Linked DNA regions of Homo sapiens: region 1 is linked to region 2. The links are contacts of gene promoters, found by promoter capture Hi-C in human tissues and cell types (Jung and others, 2019). All regions are on one chromosome and are shown on one strand. Each heading gives the region's core, a stretch centred on a gene start or on the middle of the fragment in contact. The rest is flanking DNA. Distances are from core to core; before and after follow the strand shown. Region 1 has its middle 34 kb from the start of LINC02332. Region 2 holds the start of PSMB5 (proteasome 20S subunit beta 5).

What was found. Contacts are between HindIII fragments. The study calls those that stand out against the background at their distance.
Region 1: a contact is called between a fragment that was not itself captured here and the fragment with the promoter of PSMB5 in region 2, in 1 of the 25 tissues and cell types used here (spleen).

Annotation. Positions count from the first base shown.
Region 1 is chr14:22,521,320-22,524,460 of GRCh38, forward strand. It overlaps TRA, TRAJ22, TRAJ21 and TRAJ20. Among named protein-coding and RNA genes, the nearest start is that of LINC02332, 34 kb to the right of the region's middle. The HindIII fragment of the contact is 5,765 bases long and covers 1-3,141 here.
Region 2 is chr14:23,033,510-23,036,817 of GRCh38, forward strand. PSMB5 (proteasome 20S subunit beta 5) reads right to left here and starts at 1,391. Exons shown (of 3, transcript NM_002797.5): 1 at 1,175-1,391; 2 at 1-165. The coding sequence starts at 1,372. RefSeq lists enhancers at 1,117-2,316, 1,117-1,786, 1,571-1,865. The HindIII fragment of the contact is 21,864 bases long and covers 1-3,308 here.

The DNA of each region.
Region 1 (3,141 bases), core at 455-2,954, 510 kb before region 2:
CAGATATGACAATGCTTACCCTGATTTCTCTTGGGCATGGCTCTCTTATACTATCATCACTTCCTTAGGAAATACTAAAACTAATTTTTGCTGCAGTTTAAAGTCCTTGAGCAGATAACTAACACACATACCACTTTAGTCAGGAGAAGGGAAATGCCCAAAAGTGAAGTAGAAAACTAGGAATTTGTCTGATAATTGATTATTATAAAGTTATTTTATCAGTGTGAAATGAGTGGCCAAATTAACTGGACAATGCCAGCTCTGTACCTACCTCACTTTGATTCTATAGACTCAGTCTCAGGAGGATTCAAGAATTCAGACAGTTCTCTGATGACATAATCCAGTGATGCCCACAACAGAGGAGGCGTATTCTCTATTCTGGACTTTGTGAGTCTCCTTGGATGAAAAGATTCAAGTGCTGTTTTGACACCTAAAATCAGAGAGTATTTGCTCTATACATATATCGAAAATACACAGTTAATGTTTAGAACTTTGTAGTGGAAAGTGGAAAGCAAAGGTCCCCTAAAAGAAAATGGGATTGTAAAGACGAAGGAGGGTTAGTTTAGGATTTGTAGAAAGTCAGTTTGGCTACTCCAGACCAAACCTAGATTAACAGTGATGCAGGCCTAATTCATAAAGGAAGCACTGCCAGCTCTTTATTCAGTGCTTTGCCAACCTGGCCTGTTTGATCTGGTTTTTGTTGTTGAGCAAATCATAGTGTTTCTTCTGGTTCTGCAAGGCAACTGACCTTTGGATCTGGGACACAATTGACTGTTTTACCTGGTAGGCTGCCTCAATTAAATACTATTTGCACTGATTTACTAATCTACAAATGTATTCTGTACATGTAACTTAATGGGCCTGAGGTTGAAGATGGGGAGAGACAGCAACAATGCATACTAGAAAGGGTAATGCGAGCAGAGAATTATTTATCAGAGACCAAGAAGAGAAAGAGAAGCTTTTTGCTAAGGCTTTTAGTAATAGGAGTTAATGAAAATGAATAGAAAAAAATTTCATTTTAACTTAGAAGAATTGCTGAATAATGGGAACAGATTCCATAAGGGGAACCTCTGCTTCTGAAAATATTTGCACTAGGACCAGCCTACGTGCTACAAAAACTGTCTCACACCAAGTCTAGTTGGTCACTTACATTTTTAGCCTATTCTAGTAGCTATTTCTAAATAAGTCTTTAAACATAGAGGTGCCTATATTTAAGATATTTAAATGAGGCTCTATTTCTATAGCTCTCTGGTGCCCTTCCAGCAAAGCATTGCTGTAACACATTGCTTATCATTTCTACAAGTGAGAACAAGTAAGCCCCTGGCCCTCCAAAATTGCATGAGTATTATAATTACTTGGCTTAGATTGAAGTCACTTCTGTGTTACTTCTCATAACTGTGTTCATTTGTTGAGATCTGTTTAACTCCAAACTGTGTGGGCGTCTAACTGTTGGCACTAAGGTTTCTTTTCTCTTGAAATTGCCAGCAAAATATTTTACCCATAAATAATGTTTCATCTAGACTTGCAAATGACAACTAACACTGCAGGCTCTTTTTTTTTCTTTTGCTTTGTTTCTTTTTTTCTGAAGGGAATATGCAAGCAGGAAGCAAAAAAAAAAAAAAAGCCAAAATGTACAGTTTGACTGTGGGGTCTGGGAGGAGAGTGTCAATGTGGATGCTAAAATATACATGGTTGTATAATGTAGGTACTGTCACAGAGAGGCTATAGTGATCTTATTAGATCATACATACAGAGCACCACTGGTCAGCTGGCGTTGCTCGGGGTGTCCTTAAGAAAAGCTCAGGTCTAGTTGTCAAGTGCAACCCAGATTCAGATACAGAGTCTCAGAGAGAAGCTTCCAGATCACCCTGGAGCTAAATGCAGAATATGAATTTTCCCCTTAGTTAAGTCTACCTGAGGGGAATTTTCATTTATAATTAGGAAAAGAGAAAGGTAAAGAACATTTACTTGCAGTGTCCTGTTTCAAATATTGTGTGCATTGAGCACAGAGGACACAAGAATGAACCCAAGCAGAAAACTAAAGAAAAGAAATCAATAAAACCACTGAAGAAAACCAGTTGCCCTTATCTTGCCTGTCTCTGATAATGAATGTGCCTTCCCTGCTCATTCCTCACTTTGGTTCTCAAATTTTCCAGGGAATTAGCAAAGAACTGGTAGGGTTGGGTTAGTCTTGGTCTAATTTGGTTAGTCATCTCTGGATAACAAGTCTCCTTTTTAGGAAGTGCCAGGGGATTTTTTGTAATGCCAATAAACATGGTGTACAACTTCAACAAATTTTACTTTGGATCTGGGACCAAACTCAATGTAAAACCAAGTAAGTTATAGTTGCCTAGAAGAAAAAGTTACCAACACATTATGCTAAATTCTTCTTTTCAGTCTGTATTTCAGTTCTTTTATTTTGCATTTTGGGTCCCCACCCATGATATTTTATTAGTCCTTATTCATATGTCACTTGAACAGATATGTAGTAAACAAATCTCATGATCGAGTAGACATGCTGAAACTGCCAATGTTCTCAAGGTGCTATTCTTTATAAGGAAAATGCCCAAATTTTAACTGTTGCTACTGAACAAAAGAGCATTTGGATATAATTTAAAGCACCCCTGAATGTCCAGGATTTCAGAGAGGAGACATGACAAATTAAAATTATATGTATTATTTAAAGATGAAAAGAATTAGATCCTCTTGAAAATACTCTAATAACTAACATTTCTTCAACATTCGCAATATGCAAAGCACCTTTCATACCTTGACTCATCTGACCCTCCTAACAACCCTCTGGGATAGATATTACCTATCTCCGCTTCCACAGATGAGGAAACAGTGTGAAAGGTAAAACTAAAGCAAAGAGGTTGAAATAGTTACCCAAGGGCTCACCGCAGATGAGGGGCAGAGCTAGATTAAGAGCCTGGCCTGCCTGTCCCCTAGCCCACTCTCTTAACCATGGTCTTGGTGAGGTTTGTGTAGGGCGACCTCGCACTGTGGTTCTAACGACTACAAGCTCAGCTTTGGAGCCGGAACCACAGTAACTGTAAGAGCAAGTAAGTAAGAAAGAAAAGTCCAGAATAATTTTAAGCAAAATGGTGGGTAGGTTTTTCAGCAATTTCACCTAGGAAGTGC
Region 2 (3,308 bases), core at 141-2,640:
TTGCCGAGCCAACAGCCGTTCCCAGAAGCTGCAATCCGCTGCGCCCCCAGCCATGGTGCCTAGCAGGTATGGGTTGATCTCTATCACCTTCTTCACCGTCTGGGAGGCAATGTAAGCACCCGCTGTAGCCCTGGAGTCAGCTGCAACTATGACTCCATGGCGGAACTGTTAAGATCAGAGGAAAACACAAAACAGGCCACATAAGACCACAAAAACACTCCTACATACTTCTTTTTGCATCAATCCAAACCCAGCACATCTCTTTCTCCGTCCTTTTATACTTCACAGTATACTTCTATACTTCACCATATATTAATGTCACCCGAGCTTCACATCAATCCCTTGACATGGATATAACCCATATTAAATTCATTTTATAGGATGGGCGTGGTGGCTCACTCCTGTAACCCAGGCATTTTGGGAGACCAAGGCGGGAGGACCGCTTGAGGCCAGGTGCTGGAGACCAGCCTGGGCAACACAGGGAGATCCATCTCTACAAAAAGTAAAAAAACTTAGCCTGTCGTGGTGGTGTGTGCCTATAGTGTCAGCTACTCTGGAGGCTGAGGCGCTGGAGCCACTGCACTCCAGCCTGAGCGACAGCGAAAAGCCCTGTTTCAAAAAAAAAAAAAAAACAAATCATTTTATAGATGAGGAAACAGGTTCAATGAAATCAAATGATTTCTCAATCTAGAGCTAGTTATTGCAGAGCTGGGCAAGGAACCCCAAATGTCTGATTCTTAGTACAATGCTTACCCTCACCACGCTTCCCCTTCATGCCAGTTTCAGTTACCCCTGCCTTGAGGGGCCGCCCAGTTTCCAAAACTTTGGTAAACGTTTACAATAGCCTTCCCTCGGCCAAGATTCATTGTTGTTGCGGCCTTTCCCAGCTAGAAGATCCTGAACAGCAGCAACCTGGGGTCGCCTAGGAATCAACCCAAGAGGCCTCACCTTCCTCCCCCGACTTACCCCCGGCCCCACCGCCACCCTTTCCAACCAGAGCAAAGACAGGGGCCTCCTGGGCCAATGAGACAGCAAAACTGCTGCGGTCCGAACGAGAGGACCCAGCCTCCGCCTGGGTTGGTGGCCAAGGCCACCGCAAACTCCGGTCAGGCTGGGAGGCCAGGCAAGTCGCGGGCGTTCAGTACTCAGCCTGGCAAGGGGGCTGGCTCCACACCTTGAAGGCCAGGGTGGTTGTTCCATGAAGCATTTCGATTCCTGGCTCTTCTGGGACACCCCAGCCTGGCGCGGCCAGGCTCAGACCATCACTGAGACTCCCTGGACCTAGATCCAGCAGATCTGCACGACCCCCAAGTCCGAAAAACCCGCGCTGGTTCACCGGTAGCGGTCTCTCCAACACGCTGGCAAGCGCCATGTCTAGTGTGGGCAGAAAGAACTAATTCTGAGAACGCCTAGCAAAGATAGGCCGGGCAACGCCTCGCCGTCACAGCTTCACTTCCTATTAAATCTATTCCGGAATGGAGCCATTTTGACTGCTGGCAAGCACGCCTCCAAAAAGAAGAGCCAGATGCGAAAGACCATTTTCACTGAAGGGGGTCGGGGAAATAGATGGCTTCACTAACCTTAAATTCTAAAAGGACGTACCTGCCATCTTGGCTTTGGTCATGCAAGTAGTCCTGGATCAGAATAACCTCAAAATCACAGGAAGTGACTGAAAACGTCCATGTTGCGTAAGGGAAGTGAGGTCGGCCATCTTTGAGAAGGGCGTGACTGGTTGAAAATCGGTTCTGAACCCTTAGCGGTGAGTCCTCCCACTCCAGCCTGGTGTCCAAGCAACAGGTTACATCGCTGCTGCTTCAGCACCTTGTTAACGCGCCTGAGGTTGCCATCTTGTTTAAGGGCACCTTCTAAAATTGGGTAAAATAATGATCCATTCTGAGGCCATTTCCCTATATTAGTTAAACCACAGCAATTAGTGGTAAAACAACGCAACAAAATAAAAGTGCTATACCTCTTGTTGTCAGTCGCCATACAGCAACCCTTCTTTAACAGTAACCGGTTATTAATATCCAATATTCGTTCTCTTGACTCCTACCTTCTGGTGGAAATTCGAATAAGTAATGAATTGCCTAAAAGGCAGATGGAAGAAGAAAAAGCAAAGGGTCCAGTTAATCCACAAACTAGATTCTCAGTTCAGACCTGAATAAGTGTCAGTAGTAATTTACCATCTCAGAGACGGGAGGACGGTTGAGACTGCATAAATATGTACCAAGAGATTCTCTAACTTCAACTTGCTAAGATGATGCCTTTTATTCAGGAACATACTATATTTCATTGCCTCTTCCTCCCTCCACCCACCTTCATTTTTCAAATCTTTTGGGAACTATAACAAACCGGGAAGTGTGCATATGTATGAAATGTTGCCTCCTGCTTTATGGTTCTATGAAGTCAGTCTCTGGCCTTCCTTGTTGGATTCTAGCAGCAACATCTATCAACACCGAAATTCCACTTTCCTCTGATGCCCAGTTCGGCCCCATCTTTCCCCCAGCAGACTCTGCATATGCTGTATTGTTTTTGTTTGTTTGTTTGTTTGTTTTTTGAGACCAAGTCTTGCTGTGTCCCCCAGGCTGGAACACAGTGGCACGATCTCTGCTCACTGCAACCTCTGCTTCCCAGGTTCAAGCGATTCTCCTGCCTCAGCCTCCCGAGTAGCTGGGATTACAGGCGCCTGCCTCCACAACAGGCTAATTTGTGTGTGTGTGTGTGTGTGTGTGTGTGTGTGTGTGTGTGTGTGTGTTTAGTAGAGACGGGGTTTCACCGTGTTAGCCAGGATGGTCTTGATCTCCTGACCTCGTGATCCACCCACCTCGGCCTCCCAAAGTGCTGGGATTACAGGCATGAGCCACCGTGCCCGGCCTCACGCCTGGCTAATTTTTGTATTTTTAGTAGAGATGGGGTTTCACCATATTGGCCACGCTGGTCTCAAACTCTTGACCTCAGGTGATCCGCTTGTTAGCCAGGATGGTCTTGATCTCCTGACCTCGTGATCCACCCACCTCGGCCTCCCAAAGTGCTGGGATTACAGGCATGAGCCACCGTGCCCGGCCTCACGCCTGGCTAATTTTTGTATTTTTAGTAGAGATGGGGTTTCACCATATTGGCCACGCTGGTCTCAAACTCTTGACCTCAGGTGATCCGCTTGCCCCGGCCTCCCAAAGTGCTGGGATTACAGGTGTGAACCACTGCGCCTGGCCTATGCTGTATTTTTAATGCTGAAATTGGCAACCCTTTCCAAGCCCAATCATCAGAATAGAATTAAACAGGAGATCTTTGTGTTTCACACTTGGATG